Regions from separate parts of the Homo sapiens genome. Here regions 1 and 2 are each linked to region 3. Evidence: promoter capture Hi-C in 16 types of primary human blood cells and fetal thymus (Javierre and others, 2016). All regions are on one chromosome and are shown on one strand. Each heading gives the region's core, a stretch centred on a gene start or on the middle of the fragment in contact. The rest is flanking DNA. Distances are from core to core; before and after follow the strand shown.

Region 1 (4,508 bases), core at 1,907-4,406, 110 kb after region 3:
CACCATGTTGGTCAGGTTGGTCTCGAACTCCTGACCTCAGGTGATCTGCCCACCTTGGCCTCCTAAAGTGCTGGGATTATAGGCATGAGCCATCGGGCCCAACCTGGGTACACTTTCAAGCAGTCCTTGTTCATGCATGATAATTCAGGCCCCAGATATATTTTTATTTTATTGACTTCCTTAGAAACTTAAAAAAAGAAATTAAATACAGCCACTGTTTATTTTTAGTATTTTAACTAAACTGTCTGTTGGACTCTATTTGTATTTCCTTAGGACCTGGATAACTCCGTGAGTCCAGGAATAGTTTGCTTTTTGGTAAATATTCCTTTCAGGTTTCTCTTTGCTTGCTTGCTTTTTTTTTGGGCGGAGGGGGGCGGTGGTGCGGGGGGGCAAGAATAGATTTTTGAATCATGAGAACCTAAAAACATCTGTAAGTCTAAGGGACCATCTTAAAGAAGCCAGTGAGAACTTCTTCTATTATCTGGATCACTTAAAATCAAACCAAGCATTTACCTACAAGGCCCCAGGGGCTCTGACATTTGTGATCTCATAATTCTTCCATTGATACCATGAGGCTGGAAACCCTATGGTTGCTGGCTTCCCTGGGTCACTTGGCTGCCTCTGGGCTGCCAACATAGAACCCACGTCACATAAAGCCCCGGCCCAAGTAAAATGCCAACATCCAGGCCAAATCCACACTTTTCCATTTGTGAACATGTCGCGCTTAAGAATTACCTCCCTTCTTTCTGGGATGGCTCAAATAATGGAAGGAATGGTCCTCCATCACCTTGAGGTTTTGTCAGCTTGACGTCCTCATCCAAGCCTGACCACAGCCGTTATGACAGCATGAATGCAAACACCACCTCTCCTGACCTAGACGCTGCACCCGGCTGTGCCCGCTTCTGCTGTAGGGAGAGTCAGTGAGGTCCATCTGCAGCCTTCCTCCTTTTCCTTGAATGGGGCTTGGCATTGAGGTTTGTGCACACCCTGTATAGAAGGCAAATGTTGAGGCCAGCCTTGTCCCCAGGCTCAGTCTTCCTGAAGACTTTGTCACTCCTGCTCACAGCACCCACTTTCTCCCCTTCCACACGGGATGTGTTGCTTCCTCCTGTTTCTTCTCTTTGCAGATCTCCAGTTTTCTGTCTCCTTCAAGAAATCTCCCCAGGGCCTCTATATCCCCTTTTCTCTGCCTCCCTATTGAAGCAGATGTTTTACCTCAGCCTTTCCTAGTACACTGTACTGTTTTAAAAACTATTGAATGAAAGGGCATGTTTTCCTTTCCTTTCCCCATTTAGATTACACACCTCTGGCAGTGGGGCCTCCAGCAAGTCTTAAAGATCTCGACGCACCGACATCTTGGCACATAGTAGTTAACAATAAGTAACTGTTCAATTGGCTTCTAGTTGAACCTCATATGTCTTGGTTAACATGTGCAGGATTGGTAGGCATTCAGCCCCAATTATTCCGCCCTTAACTCATTTTTGCAGTTTATTAATAATCAGTTGGCACGCAGTTTCGAAAGAACTAATTCTGTAATAACATGTTATGGCTACTCCTCGGCGCCATTACATGCCTGAGGTCCCTTGCTGTCCCTTTGTGTTTTTGATGAAAGGTAACAGCCTGGTGTTCCCAGCCGTCACCCAGAGGTGGGAGCAGATCCGGCTGCTGCAGCTTATTGCTAGGAATGGGTGAGGCTGAGTGGAAGCTTTAGTAACTCAGGTGCGGCTCTTAAGCTTTGTTTTGAGTTTCAAAAGGGCTGTTTTGTCCCTTACTCGTGAAGTGGCCTTGTGTGACATAATGGCCCCCTCTGTGCAGGGTTCGAGGGGAAGGGAAGGGGAACATGCCCAGCGACTCCACGTGGGGAAGTTGCATTTCCACACCATTCACAGGGGATCCAGTGTTTTCGGAATTGTCTGGGTGTGAACAGCATAAGAGGTGCTAGAAACTCAGCAAGGGAAGGGGGAGCTGGGCCAGGAGGAGAAGGCTGGGGATGGGCTGAGGAGAGAGAGCTTCCTGGCCAGAGGCAGCCCCAGGCATGGGTCTTGGGTTCTGAGTGGGCAGGATTCTGGCTCAGGGTGAGAGGTGAAACTTCGTTCAGGAGATATACGCTGAGCCATCCACTACGTGCCAGGCACCTTAGAAAGGGCCGGGTATTCATATTGTGACTTCACACGGCTCCCTGCAGAGTTGACGTTGGGAGCTGCCCTGCTAGCCACGGACCACATTGTGAACAGCACCCCCTGGGGGTGGGAGATGTGGTGGGCGGAGTTCAGGATCCAGCCACAGGGAAAGAACGAACAGGCAAACTGTGGGATCCCGGCCTGCCAGGGAGGGTTCAGGGTAAAGCCTTCAGTTTGCTTGTTCATTCATTTATTCAATATTTATTGAAGGCCTCACAGGGAGGTGACAAACTCTATAGACACATACACGGGGGAAGAGCACGCCAGGCAGAGGGAACAGCAGGTGCAAAGGGGATGGCGCTTGGTAGGTTCCAGGAGCGGGCAGAACAGAGTGGCTGGAGCAGAGTGGGCAAGGCTGGGGGGCAGCACTGAAGGAGGCACAGTCAGAAAGGGGACAGGGGGCTGGTCACAGGGGCATGCAGCCCATGATGAAGCCTTTTGACTGAGATGGGGAGTAGAGAGGGGTCTTGAGCAGAAAGGTGACGTGATCCAACCTTTGTTTTAACGTAGCGCCATGGCTGCCATGATATAATCATAGACCGAAGGGGTCAAGGGTAGAAAATCAGAGACAAGTTGTTGGGCCAGTGGGGCCTGGATGGTGGCAGTAGAAATGGGGAAAGTTCTCAGATTCTGGACCCATTTTGAAGGAGGAGTGACAGGATTTGCTGATGGAACAAATGTGGGGAGCAAGAGGAAGAAGAGTTAGGAATGTCTCCTGGGCAGTGGGAAAGAAGAAAGTGTCATTGACAGAAATGGAGAAGACTGTGGGAGGGGCAGGTTTGGGAGGAAATAATTAGGAGCTCTGTTTGGGACATGTTGTATTGGAGATACTTTTTGGACATCCAGTGGGGAGAGTGATAGGTGGGGTAATTGGGTCTAGAAGTCAGGGATGAGGTCTAGGTTAGAGACAGAGACTTTAGTCATCAGCATGTTGATGGTACTTCAAGCCATGAGACTGGAGGAGATCCCTGAGACTGAAGCTGAGAAAAAAAGAGGTCAAGGGCTGAGCCGTGGGCACTACAGCTTTTGCACACTGGAGAGAAGAGCAAGAACTGGCAAAGGAGACTGAGAAGGAGCAGCCAGAGAGGTAGGAGGAGACCTGGTGGGCGCCGCATTCCTGCAGCCAAGGAGGGGAGTGTACGAAGGAAGAGGGGCTGCTGCTGAAGGTCGAGTGAGATGAGGGCTGAGAAACAACCATTAGGTTTAGCAAATGCAGGTCTTTGCTGTCCTCAAAATATAGACTTGGCACTCTGCCCGCTAGCAGGACAGATTCCAGAATAGAATCTGGTATCAAGACAGATACCAGGGAGAGGAGGCTCTTCAAAATCCCAGGCACGTCTGGCCCCCTAGGAGACTCAGGAAAAAGTCTCCAGACTTGGAACCTAAGCTGGACTGCCTTATCTGAGAAGATTGGTGTAATCAATGGTTTGGTGTCAGGCTCCCATAGAGAATGGGGTGAAGCTGACTATGGCTCAGCACTTGCTTAGGATAGTGGGCCATAGGGGGTTCCCTTCTTGGATGGAGGGCCGAAGGCAAGCCTCTTCACTGGGCATCAGTCACCAGTCCCTCTTCCCTCTAAGATGGGGTAGGTTGGCTGACAAGGCTTCCCACTGGCACAGTGCAACCAGAAGTCCCAGATGGGGACCTGGAACCATGTGGCTCATCTTTGAGCTACAAGGTCAGAGCCAGGGGCCTCTTTAAAACAGACCGGGCCAGGCACGGTGGCTCACATCTGTAATCCCAGCACTTTGGGAGGCCGAGGCGGGCAGATCACGAGGTCAGGAGATCGAGACCATCCTGGCTAACACGGTGAAACCCCGTCTCTACTAAAAAAAATACAAAAAATGAGCTGGGCATGGTGGTGGGCGCTTGTAGTCCCAGCTACTCGGGAGGCTGAGGCAGGAGAATGGCATGAACCTGGGAGGAGGAGCTGGCAGTGAGCCGAGATCGCACCACTGCATTCCGGCCTGGGCAACAGAGCGAGACTCCATCTCAAAAAAAAATTAATTAATTAAAAAAAAAAAAAAACAGACCAACAGTTGCCCATAGACCAACAGCAGTTTGTCAGATGGAAACAGTTAAAGGATGGCCATGTCCTTCTTGGGCAGTGCAGTGCCGGTTTTGGTCACCCGGTGACTGACCAGCTCTCCTTTGCCCAGAAAGATCTCCAAGTGAATGGCAGTCAGGTGTCCCCCATGAATGTGGTTTAGGACAGGACTGTCCACAGTGCTGACTCAATGCAATGGTGTTATTTATTGCTTCTGCTAGTGGTGGTGGTTGGCTTGGTTCTGATCTCCAGATGTAACAGTGCCATCCCGGCAAGTGAAA
Region 2 (4,926 bases), core at 2,396-4,895, 84 kb after region 3:
ATCCTCCCCCTCCCGTGAAGAGCCACAGCCACATCCTCCATGCCCTGCTGCACTTCCTGAGGAGTGAAAGATGGTGGCTGTCAGCGTGTCAAGGATGACGGGTGGCAAGAGGGGTAAACACAGCTTGTTACTACCAGATTCGATTACCGGGTGATGCTCGAAGACAAATGGCCTGGGGCCTTTCTGCCCCTTGAGGGCAGGGGCAGTCTTAGTCACCAGGAGCAGGGTCCTATGAGGAGGAGTTAGGGATGTTGTGGAATTGTCTCCCAAAGCCAGTGCCAGCCGATAGGACTAGTTGTGTTATCTCGAGTTTTCGTTGTTGGTAGTTTTGAATTGGGAGCCTTGATTTGACCCTGAGAATAACCAAAACTGTACAAAAGACATGTGTATTCAAAACAAGACACAATAAGGCTCAAAAACAAAACTGTCTATGGTGATAAAGGTTAGAGTAGGAGTTACCTTGGGGGCAGAGGAATGTTGGCTGGGACAGGATATGCAAGAACCTCTAGAATGGTTCTGGAATGTTCTGTATCTTGATCTGGTGGTGGTGACACAAGTTTATACAGATGTATTAATTGAGCTGTACATTTAAGATGTGGGGAATCGCTCTGAACCTATTCTGGTAACAGGGGCTCCCCGAGTTTTAAAAAAGATGTGTACATTTTACTGTATATATGCTATATCTCAGTGAATAAGTAACAATAAAGAAAAATATGCATAAAGGTGGACTGTGAACAGAAACACCTTGGCAACATTTGAATAACCTAGCTTTTACCATATTTGGAGTTTGCTGTCCCCTGGTCCTAGGTGCTAAAAACCTGATTTGGTTCAGTCCAGACATTTAAAACACCAGCCAGCTATGGAGAGTAAAATAATGGCAAGTCTCTTCCTAGTTTGACCATCAAGAGAGTAATTTGGAAACTCCAGCCCTGTGCCCTGAAACCAGAGTCTGTCCATCCCTCTACAATTAGATGAGATTCCTGGGGCATCAAGGTCAAGCAGATCCAGCTTTGAATTGCTGTTCTGCCACTTTAACACCGGGACCTTCTGAAAAACAGTTGCCCTCTCTCAGGTTCCGTTTCTTTGTGAATTGGGTGAACTCTTGAGTGTTCTTTAGCAAAGGAGTACCTGTAACGTGCTCCACCCAGTGGTGAGTCCGTAGCAGGTGATCAATAAATGCTAAAGATGCTGATTGTCATTGTCACCACTATCACGAAATTGTGCAGCGTTCGAGGGAACTCCAGGGAGCCACATACCCTCGCCAGTGATGTACCTCTACAATGGCTTCAACAAACAGTTCCCACACAACGCAACTTTTCCTACAGTTGGGTGGGCTCCAGGGTGCAGAGGCCCCCCGCCTTGCTTGGCAGGTTGGCTTGGCTGGAGCCTTTGCTGGTTCTCAGAGCGGGAACATGGTCGAGTTGGCCAACAGTGTACCCACGTTGAAGCAGCTGTGCCGAACATCTGGCTCTGATTATCTGGCTGGGAATGGCCGGGGGTGGGAGCACTGTGATTTATAGATTGCTCCTTTGGCTGTAAATCCCATCTGTAATTGTGACTTCTCTGTCCCTAATTGTTTGCAGAGAAGAGAGGAGCTCAATGGCTTACAATCCCTGGCAGAGCCCAAGGCTGCTGGGGTGGGGGTGGGGGGGGGTGAGGGGGGTGGTGAGGTTTGTTGCTAGGACACGGCTGTCTTTGTTTTGGTCCCTGCTCAGCAGTGTTTTTAAGGCCCTGTATACATTTCTCTGTATTGTTAATGTAATTTGTTCAGGCAGTGAACAGCCAAGTTCAGCCGAAGGAATCCGATACTCATAACAGAAACACCAGAGGCCAGGTTTTTGTGGTCAAATTAGGGTTTTGAGGCCTCTGAAGAGAATGAAATGTTGGCGCTGGGCGGGGGACAATCTCCCTTTCTCCTCTTGTGGTGATGCTGGCCTGGGTTCAGCTTCCTTGAGGAGCTTGGCTTTGGGGCACCAAGTCCACTGCATTCAGGGCTGTGTTAGGTGGGGAGCCCGGCTGCCCTTCTCCGAGAAAGGGAATGCAGATTTTATTCAAAAGGGAAGAAAAGGCACTAACAAAGTATGAGCAAGTTTGGGCCCTGCCTGCCCAGCCTTTCCTTCCCCGTGGCTCCGGGCAGCTTTTTTCCCCCCATCCCCCACCCTGCATTACTTGACTGGTGAGGAAATAATAGTTGGGCTCTGCTGAGAAGGTATGTGACTGTGCAAAATGCAATTTGCCCGTTTCCGCTGCCCATGAAGACCCGACAGCCCACTTGCCATCTGGGAACCTCGCGCCCTGCTGTGCTTGGAGTTTTCGGAAACGATGGATTCCAAACAACTTCCAGTGAGCAATTGGTGATATTAAGTTAACTGAGTTCATCTTACCCTTTTTATTTTGCCTCAGAGAGTAAAATAAGATAGAAGCAAACATACCAGCCCACAAACATGTCCATGCTTCCTTTTGCTTCTAGAAGGCGTATGTTGGGAAATTAATCAGACCAACGTTAGCCCCTTCCTCCCGGCCCTGGAAGAATGCCTGGTGTGTGTGCATCCCCCTCTCCAGTTAGCAATTACCGAACAACTTCTGTGGCTACCAAGGAGAGCATGATAGGGTCCCAGCCCTCCAGAGCTTACAATGTAAGAGAACAAACAGGAACATGAGTCTTTACAATACCTGCAGTGAGCGCCAACAAAGTGGAATAAAATGTCACCTGAAATACCTGAGAAAGGGGCTTCTCAAGCTTGGAGAAGGCAGAGGCTTTGGAGAGATGTTTGATCTGAGCCTTGCAGGAGACCGTCCAAGTGTGGGTTCTAGTACTACCTGGATGCAAGCCTTCCTCCGCCTGTGTCCCAGCAAGGAAGAGTTGCCTTCTTAATGACCCCATTCATTGTCCCTAGAACGTGGTGATTTACCAGAAGTCTTCAGAGGCAAGCCATCTTCAATTCAGAAGGGGAATCCCACATGTGTGTTGAATATGAGGCATTGTTTAAGACACCTCCTGCCCTCACCACATTGGCAAACTGACAGCGTCAACTTGAAACAAGTCTGCACATTGTGGCCATTTTCACTCCACAACAAATGTTTGTAAGTGGCCACCTAAGCCTGTGAACTTCCTAACTTTGATAATTACAAACACGAGGTAGATAAGATTGAAGCAAACCTGGCAAGTTATACTGACTTGCAGCTGAAGCACTCTGAGAAACAGAACAATTTGTTCACAGAAAAAGGAAATTAAGGTGTTTCTACACTCTTTAATTTCCAAGGTCTTTGTTTAAAGTGAATGAGTTCAAATGAGGGAAGACACATTCTGCTCACGTTTGATGTCACTCACTACTCATGTCGCAGCATAGGGTGTCACAGCCTGTGTCCCAGCTTCTTCCCATGGGCACCATGCTCTTCAGCCATACAGACTCGGACATTCCACTGCCAACCAGTATCCTCACCAATGACCCCAAGGTGCTGTTGAGGCACTTTTCTTTTTCAGAGTTTACTGACATCCTACCCACCACTGAGTAGCATGTTCCTTGCCCATGATTCCCTTCTGTACTCCCTCCCCCAATACCCTGTATAGGCCAAGTATCCCTTATCCAAAATGTTTGGGGCCAGAAGTGTTTCGCAGTTTTGGAACTCTTATTGGATTTGGGAATATTTGCATTATACTGACCAGCTGAGCATCTGTAATTGGAAAATCTGACATGCCCCAGTCAGCATCTCATTTGAGTGTCATGTTGGCACTCAAGAAGTTTCAGATTTTTGAGCATTTTGGATTTTGTATTTTCGATTTTGGGGTTAGGGATGCTCAACTTGTACTAGCATTAAATTAGGTCTAATCAGTTTTTATCAAAATAATTTTTTTCTTTTTTGTCTCCTTCACTAGACCATGGAATTCCTTGGAATCAAAAATCATGTCCTCTTCTCCCGTGCCTAGAAGAATGCCCGAGAGGTGTTCACTATGTATTTATAGGGTGAAATTTTCCTATATATGTCTTATATCCCTTAAGAAATTTTTTTCCAGACAATAAATGCTCCCTTTTCAAAGCACTATAATTAACTCTAGGTGTTTTTGATTTAAAATGTTCTGAAATGCATCCCACACTTTTCTAACTTTACTTATTTTATTTATTTATTTATTTATTTATTTATTTATTTTTGAGACAAGATCTTGCTCTGTCACCCAGGCCTGGAGTGCAGTGGCACGATCTTGGCTCACTGCAATTCCGCCTCCTGGGCTCAAGCAATCCTTCTGCCTCAGCCTCCTGAATAACTGGGACTATAAGCACATGCCACCATGCCTGGCTAATTTTTGTATTTTTTGAAGAGATGGGGTTTCACCATGTTGCCCAGGTTGGTCTTGAACTCCTAGGTTCAAGGGATTTGCCTGCCTTGGCCTCCCAAAGTTCTGGGATTACAGGCGTGAGCTACCACGCCCAGCGTTATCTGACTTCTAGTGGTTCCAAACATCTATATTAAAATCATGAACTAGGAAATATTTAGTTAAAATATCTTTTTATTCCAATGGGGGGGGGAAAACTGGTGATAGTGTTCTTTCCTAAAGCTTTTGCATTTTTTCCTCTAGGAGAGGTCCTTGGATATTTACCCAGGCTTTCCTGACTTGATAAAAGAACACTGCTTGATTATATAGTGCAGTCATCTGCAGATTAAGTGGCAGCTGACCATCTAGGCAGGGGAAAATATGAGAAGTAATAATATAAAAGGATACTCTGTGATGGACGGGCATAATGGTGAATAAGATGTTCAGAGCCAGGAGCACTGGGTCACACCTGTAATCCCAATACTTTGGGATGCTGAAGCAGGAGGATCACTTGAGGCCAGGAGTTCAAGACCAGCCAGGTCAACATAGCCAGACCCTGTCTCTACAAAAAATAAAATAAAATAGGCACACACCTGTAATCCCAGCTACTCAGG
Region 3 (4,562 bases), core at 989-3,488:
CCGGCCACAAGTATGGTTTCTTACAAGAAGGGGGCAGAGGAAAATTTGTCACAGACAAAAAAAGGAGAAGGCAATGTGATTACAGACGCAAGGGTGGGAGTGATGTGGTCACAAGCCCCCAGAAGCTGCAAGAGACAAGGGTAGATTCTTTTCGGAGCCTCCAGAGGGAGCATGGCCCCGTCAACACCTCCATTTCTACTCAGTGAAACTGACAGTGGACTTCTGTCTTCCACAACTATGAGAGGATAAACTTCTGTTGTTTTAAGCCACCAAGTTTTCGTGATTTGTGACAGTAGCAGCAGAAAACTAGTACAATAGGTTTTTCATATATTTATGGACCATAAACATGAAAAATCGTCTGACTTTTAAATCTTATAAAAATAAAATAACACACAATAATACAAAGAGTATGATTCTATGTATGTACATCAGAATATCTGTAAATACGTTTACATATGTTCATAACTGCCTAGGAAAGTGTCTGGAAGGATATATACCAAACTAGTGACAGTGGTTAACCAGAGGCAGTTAACTGAAAGTGGTTAATTAGAAGGGTCCTGTGTCCTGAGGGGGAAAGAGGAACTTTTACTTGTTACTCGATACTGCTCAAGATACATCTGTTATTTGAAAACGCTTTATGAGACTGTACTCATGTATTGTGTAAAAAATTAGAAAAGGCATATCTGCTTGTTATAAAGTTCATAGAAACCAGAAAACTATCTCCTTTCACTTATCCTTTCCCAGAAATAGTCATTGATAATAATTTGCATCTTCTCAGATTTTTTTCTACGCAGAAATAAATGTGTATAATTTTTTTAAAAACAAAAATAAAATAGTGAGTGTCATATATAGTGTTTCATTTAAAGATGTTCCTCCAAAATCAATCTTGGTCCATGTGCCTGTGTGTGTGTGTGTGTGTGTGTGTGTGTGTGTGTGTGTGTGTGTGTGTATGGGTGGGGGGAGGGGCGGGGACACTGCATAGAACTGGCCAGCTGCATGGACTGTCACTGTAAAGAAAGATGAAGAATGCATGTCACCAAGCTCTCTGATGCTTTGAACCTAGCATATGTGGCTTTGCCCATATGTGCGGGCACCTCTGTAGAAACTCTTCTGCCAGTTGGGCTGAAAATAGTTTTACATAGTTCCATACTGCCTTCCAAGCTGTTTTCAAAGTTTATGCTCTAATAGTTCCCCACGGAGGATAACACAAGATATTCATTTTCCTCAAACTTTCCCGCACAGGTTGGAGAGAAACGACATCTTAATGTCATTGTAACAGGCATTTCTTTATTAAAAAAATTTTTTTTTTGGAGACAAGGTCTTGCTATGTTGCCCAGGCTGGTCTCAAACTCCTGGGCTCCAGCGATCCTCCTGCCTAGGCCTCGGGAGTAGATGGAACTCCAGGCGCGGGCCGTGGCGCTCGCACCACAGGCATTACTTAGGTATGAGGCTGGTTGAGCATTTTTCTCGTGTTCACTGGCTACTCACGCAGCTTTGTGAATGGCTTCGGAGATCACTGGACAGGCAATTTTCCCTCTCAATGAACCAAATCCAAATTCTTTTGGAACCCAAGACCGCGATTTTTCGATTTAGGACCTAGTCCCAAACAATGAAGAAAAGGTGATCTTCAAGATTTCAGCAGGGAAATCTGTATATCTGTACAAGGTTGAAAACCTGGGCCGGGGGTCGCGTTGGAACCCCACAGGAAAAAGGCGCGGAAAGCCGCCGGGCATTTTCCGGGGTTCCATAGATGTCCCCAGTGTCCTAGTCCGTGCATCAGCTCGCGCACTCGGAGGGACTCTAGGCAGGGGGAGGGCCCCGCGGCCAGTATGTGCGTCCGAGGCTTTCCCGCAGGGGGCAGTGCCGCCCGCCCGCGCGCCGATACGGTGGGAGGGGGTGGGAACCTGCGCGGAGTTCTGGAGGTTCTTTGGGAGAAAGTTAGGGGATGCGGAGGGGTGGGCGCAAGACTTCCAGGACTCCAGGGAGGCCGTGGGGAGGGCCGCCGAGGGTGCAGTGTGAGGCGCAGGAGGGGGTTGGGGGCGGTGCACGTTGCAGGGAGACGCAGCCCCTGGAAGATGCGAGTGTGAACGTGTGAGTGTGAGTGCGTGTGTATGTGTGTGTGTGCGCGCGCACCGCAGCTCTCCGGGTTCCGCGAGGCGCGCGGGTGTCAGCTTGCAGCCGGGGCTCCTCCCTCCGGCCCCCCTGCCCAGCCCGGCGGTCCCTCCTCCCTCCCTCCCCGCTCGCCCCTCCCCGGCGGGCCAGGGGCTGGGACGCCCCGGCGGAGCAGGCGGCGGCGGTGGCGAGTTGGGGAGCCCTAGGCTCGGCGCTGCCGGAGGGGCCCGAGCCGAGCCGCCTGCGCCCCGGCCGGGCAGCGCCGGGCCCGCTTCCCGCGGGGCCACGCCCTGTCAAACTTTGTTGCGGCGGCTAGCGCAGCGGGCCCGCAAGCGGGCGGGAGGGGCGCCGGGCCGGGCCGGGCAGGGCGCGGGCGGCTAGGGGCTCCGAGAGCGGCGGCCCCGGCCCGCGGCCCCACCATGCCCCAGCTCGGCGGCGGGGGCGGCGGCGGCGGCGGCGGCAGCGGGGGAGGCGGCGGCTCCAGCGCCGGGGCGGCCGGCGGAGGGGACGACCTCGGGGCGAACGACGAGCTGATCCCCTTCCAGGACGAGGGGGGCGAGGAGCAGGAGCCGAGCAGCGATAGCGCCTCGGCGCAGCGGGACCTAGACGAGGTCAAGTCGTCCCTGGTCAACGAGTCGGAGAACCAGAGCAGCAGCTCGGACTCGGAGGTAAGGAAGCACCGCGGCCACCCCCGGGGGATCCCGGCCCTGCGTCCGCTCACCCGCTCTTGCCTTTGTGTCTCCTCCGCAGGCGGAGAGGCGCCCGCAGCCCGTCCGGGACACTTTCCAGAAGCCGCGGGACTATTTCGCCGAAGGTATGTGCCCGCTGGGACAGCCCCCCACTCTCGATTCCCGCTGCGCTCCGCTGCTCAGCCCGGGCGGCCCACCGTCCCCCTTGCTTGGGTGGACGCACCCTTGCCCTCCGCCTTTATTGGCGGCAGCCCCCGTGGGGCGCGCGTGGGGGGCGCTGGGGTCCCCAGCTCCCGCCTCGAGCCCCCTGCCGCGGCGCTGTCAGTCCCGGGGGCCTGGGCCTCACCTCGCCTTGGTCTTGTTCGCAGTGAGAAGGCCTCAGGACAGCGCGTTCTTTAAAGGACCCCCGTACCCTGGGTACCCCTTCCTGATGATCCCGGACCTGAGCAGCCCGTACCTCTCCAACGGACCCCTGTCTCCCGGAGGAGCGCGCACCGTGAGTGCCCGTCGGGCGCGCCGGGGAGGGTGGGAGGCCGCGGCCCGCAGGATGCGCCCCCGGGCTTGGCCATGGAGTGGGGGATGGGGCCTTCTGCGCCGATCCCAAGCAGAACTTGTTTGCGGAGTTGAACTACTCTCTGGCGGCCGAGCGCGAGGCTGCGCTGGCCAGTGCCTGGATGAAAGTAAAGTTACTTTAACTTTTCCCCTCTTGCGGGTTGAGGTTTTGGAGTCCACCTCTGGGATCTTCCTTGGCCTCCAGAATTCTTCGCCTGCACCGAAGGAAACTTGGATTTGTGCCCGCTTTGGGGGGGTCTCGCTTTCCTTCTTGGAAATCGGTCAGCTTTCTCTGGCAGTGGGGCAAGGGGCCTAGGGAGCTGGGTTGGCGACGTTGTCCTCCGACTCCGGGTTCACTGGGCGGCTGCAGGCTGGTTCCTAAGAAACCCAGTTTTCGTGGCGGGTTATTCACAGCCCCCGTTCCCACCCCCAGCCCTCGCACCGGGGCCTCAGCTTTTCTGCGGAGCTAGCTCCGAATTTTAAACTCGCGTAGATGATTTCGAGGCGACCCAAGGCATTCTTCAAGTTGAGGAACTTGGCTTTTTCCCCCTTTTGTCGCCTGCTTTTCTCATTTAAAGCGAGCGCTGCGACACTTTAAACCTGTTAATGGGCGCGTATTGTGTGCTGCCCGCTGGCATTTAGAGCGGTGATTAAGCAAATTGACCGGGCCCCAGACGACGTGCAAATGAGGGCGGATTCCTTCGCCCCCTCTCTCTGGCTCTAAACTCCCGCCCCCCGCGTTGCGAGGGGCGCAGCTGGGGGCTGGCGAGGCCTTTGTGTCCCCCAAGCCGCCACTCCACCCCTAGGCTCCCTGCCCAGGTGCTGGGTCCGATGACAGATGTTGGGTGAACGCCTACCTACTGTGTGCCAGGTTCCCGCGTGCTGCTGCTTGGGCGCGATGTGAATCGTAGTAGTTCTTTGCTTCCCGCCCAGATTCCCATTGCCTGCCACTTCGCTGTCGACGGTGGGTAAGGGGGCAGGGAGTGTTAGCCTCTTAGGAGCAGGGTCCCAGCAACACACTTTATGCTAAGACTGCCCTAAAATAACGACGATAATTAAAGGGTGCTAGAGAAAGGCTAGGTGCTGAATGGCCATTCCTGCTGTCATTGTACAGCGGTCGGTGGAGAGCCAAGTCCTCCACATTTGGTTCAGCGGGGGCGCTACCATCACCAGATGGGTTGGAGGGGGATTGACGGGGGGCGGTGGAAG

Evidence for each region. Contacts are between HindIII fragments. The CHiCAGO score rates a contact against its expected background, and 5 or more counts as called.
Region 1: a fragment that was not itself captured here is called in contact with the fragment with the promoter of TCF7L1 in region 3 in 2 of 17 cell types (endothelial precursors and megakaryocytes); the score reaches 15.2 in endothelial precursors.
Region 2: a fragment that was not itself captured here is called in contact with the fragment with the promoter of TCF7L1 in region 3 in 1 of 17 cell types (endothelial precursors); the score reaches 5.4 in endothelial precursors.

Annotation. Positions count from the first base shown.
Region 1 is chr2:85,241,641-85,246,148 of GRCh38, forward strand. The region is part of intron 3 of TCF7L1 (transcription factor 7 like 1); the gene reads left to right. Among named protein-coding and RNA genes, the nearest start is that of TCF7L1-IT1, 57 kb to the left of the region's middle. The HindIII fragment of the contact is 2,851 bases long and covers 1,732-4,508 here.
Region 2 is chr2:85,214,123-85,219,048 of GRCh38, forward strand. The region is part of intron 3 of TCF7L1 (transcription factor 7 like 1); the gene reads left to right. It overlaps LOC102724579 (a long non-coding RNA gene), which reads left to right. Exons shown (of 3, transcript NR_136323.1): 2 at 2,898-3,084; 3 at 3,878-4,047. Among named protein-coding and RNA genes, the nearest start is that of TCF7L1-IT1, 30 kb to the left of the region's middle. RefSeq lists an enhancer at 780-1,714 and a silencer at 964-1,258. The HindIII fragment of the contact is 1,815 bases long and covers 2,739-4,553 here.
Region 3 is chr2:85,131,154-85,135,715 of GRCh38, forward strand. It overlaps TCF7L1 (transcription factor 7 like 1), which reads left to right and starts at 2,239. Exons shown (of 12, transcript NM_031283.3): 1 at 2,239-2,780; 2 at 2,863-2,926; 3 at 3,170-3,297. The coding sequence starts at 2,532. RefSeq lists a silencer at 1,839-1,908 and enhancers at 2,274-2,848, 3,424-3,998, 3,999-4,562. The HindIII fragment of the contact is 24,991 bases long and covers 1-4,562 here.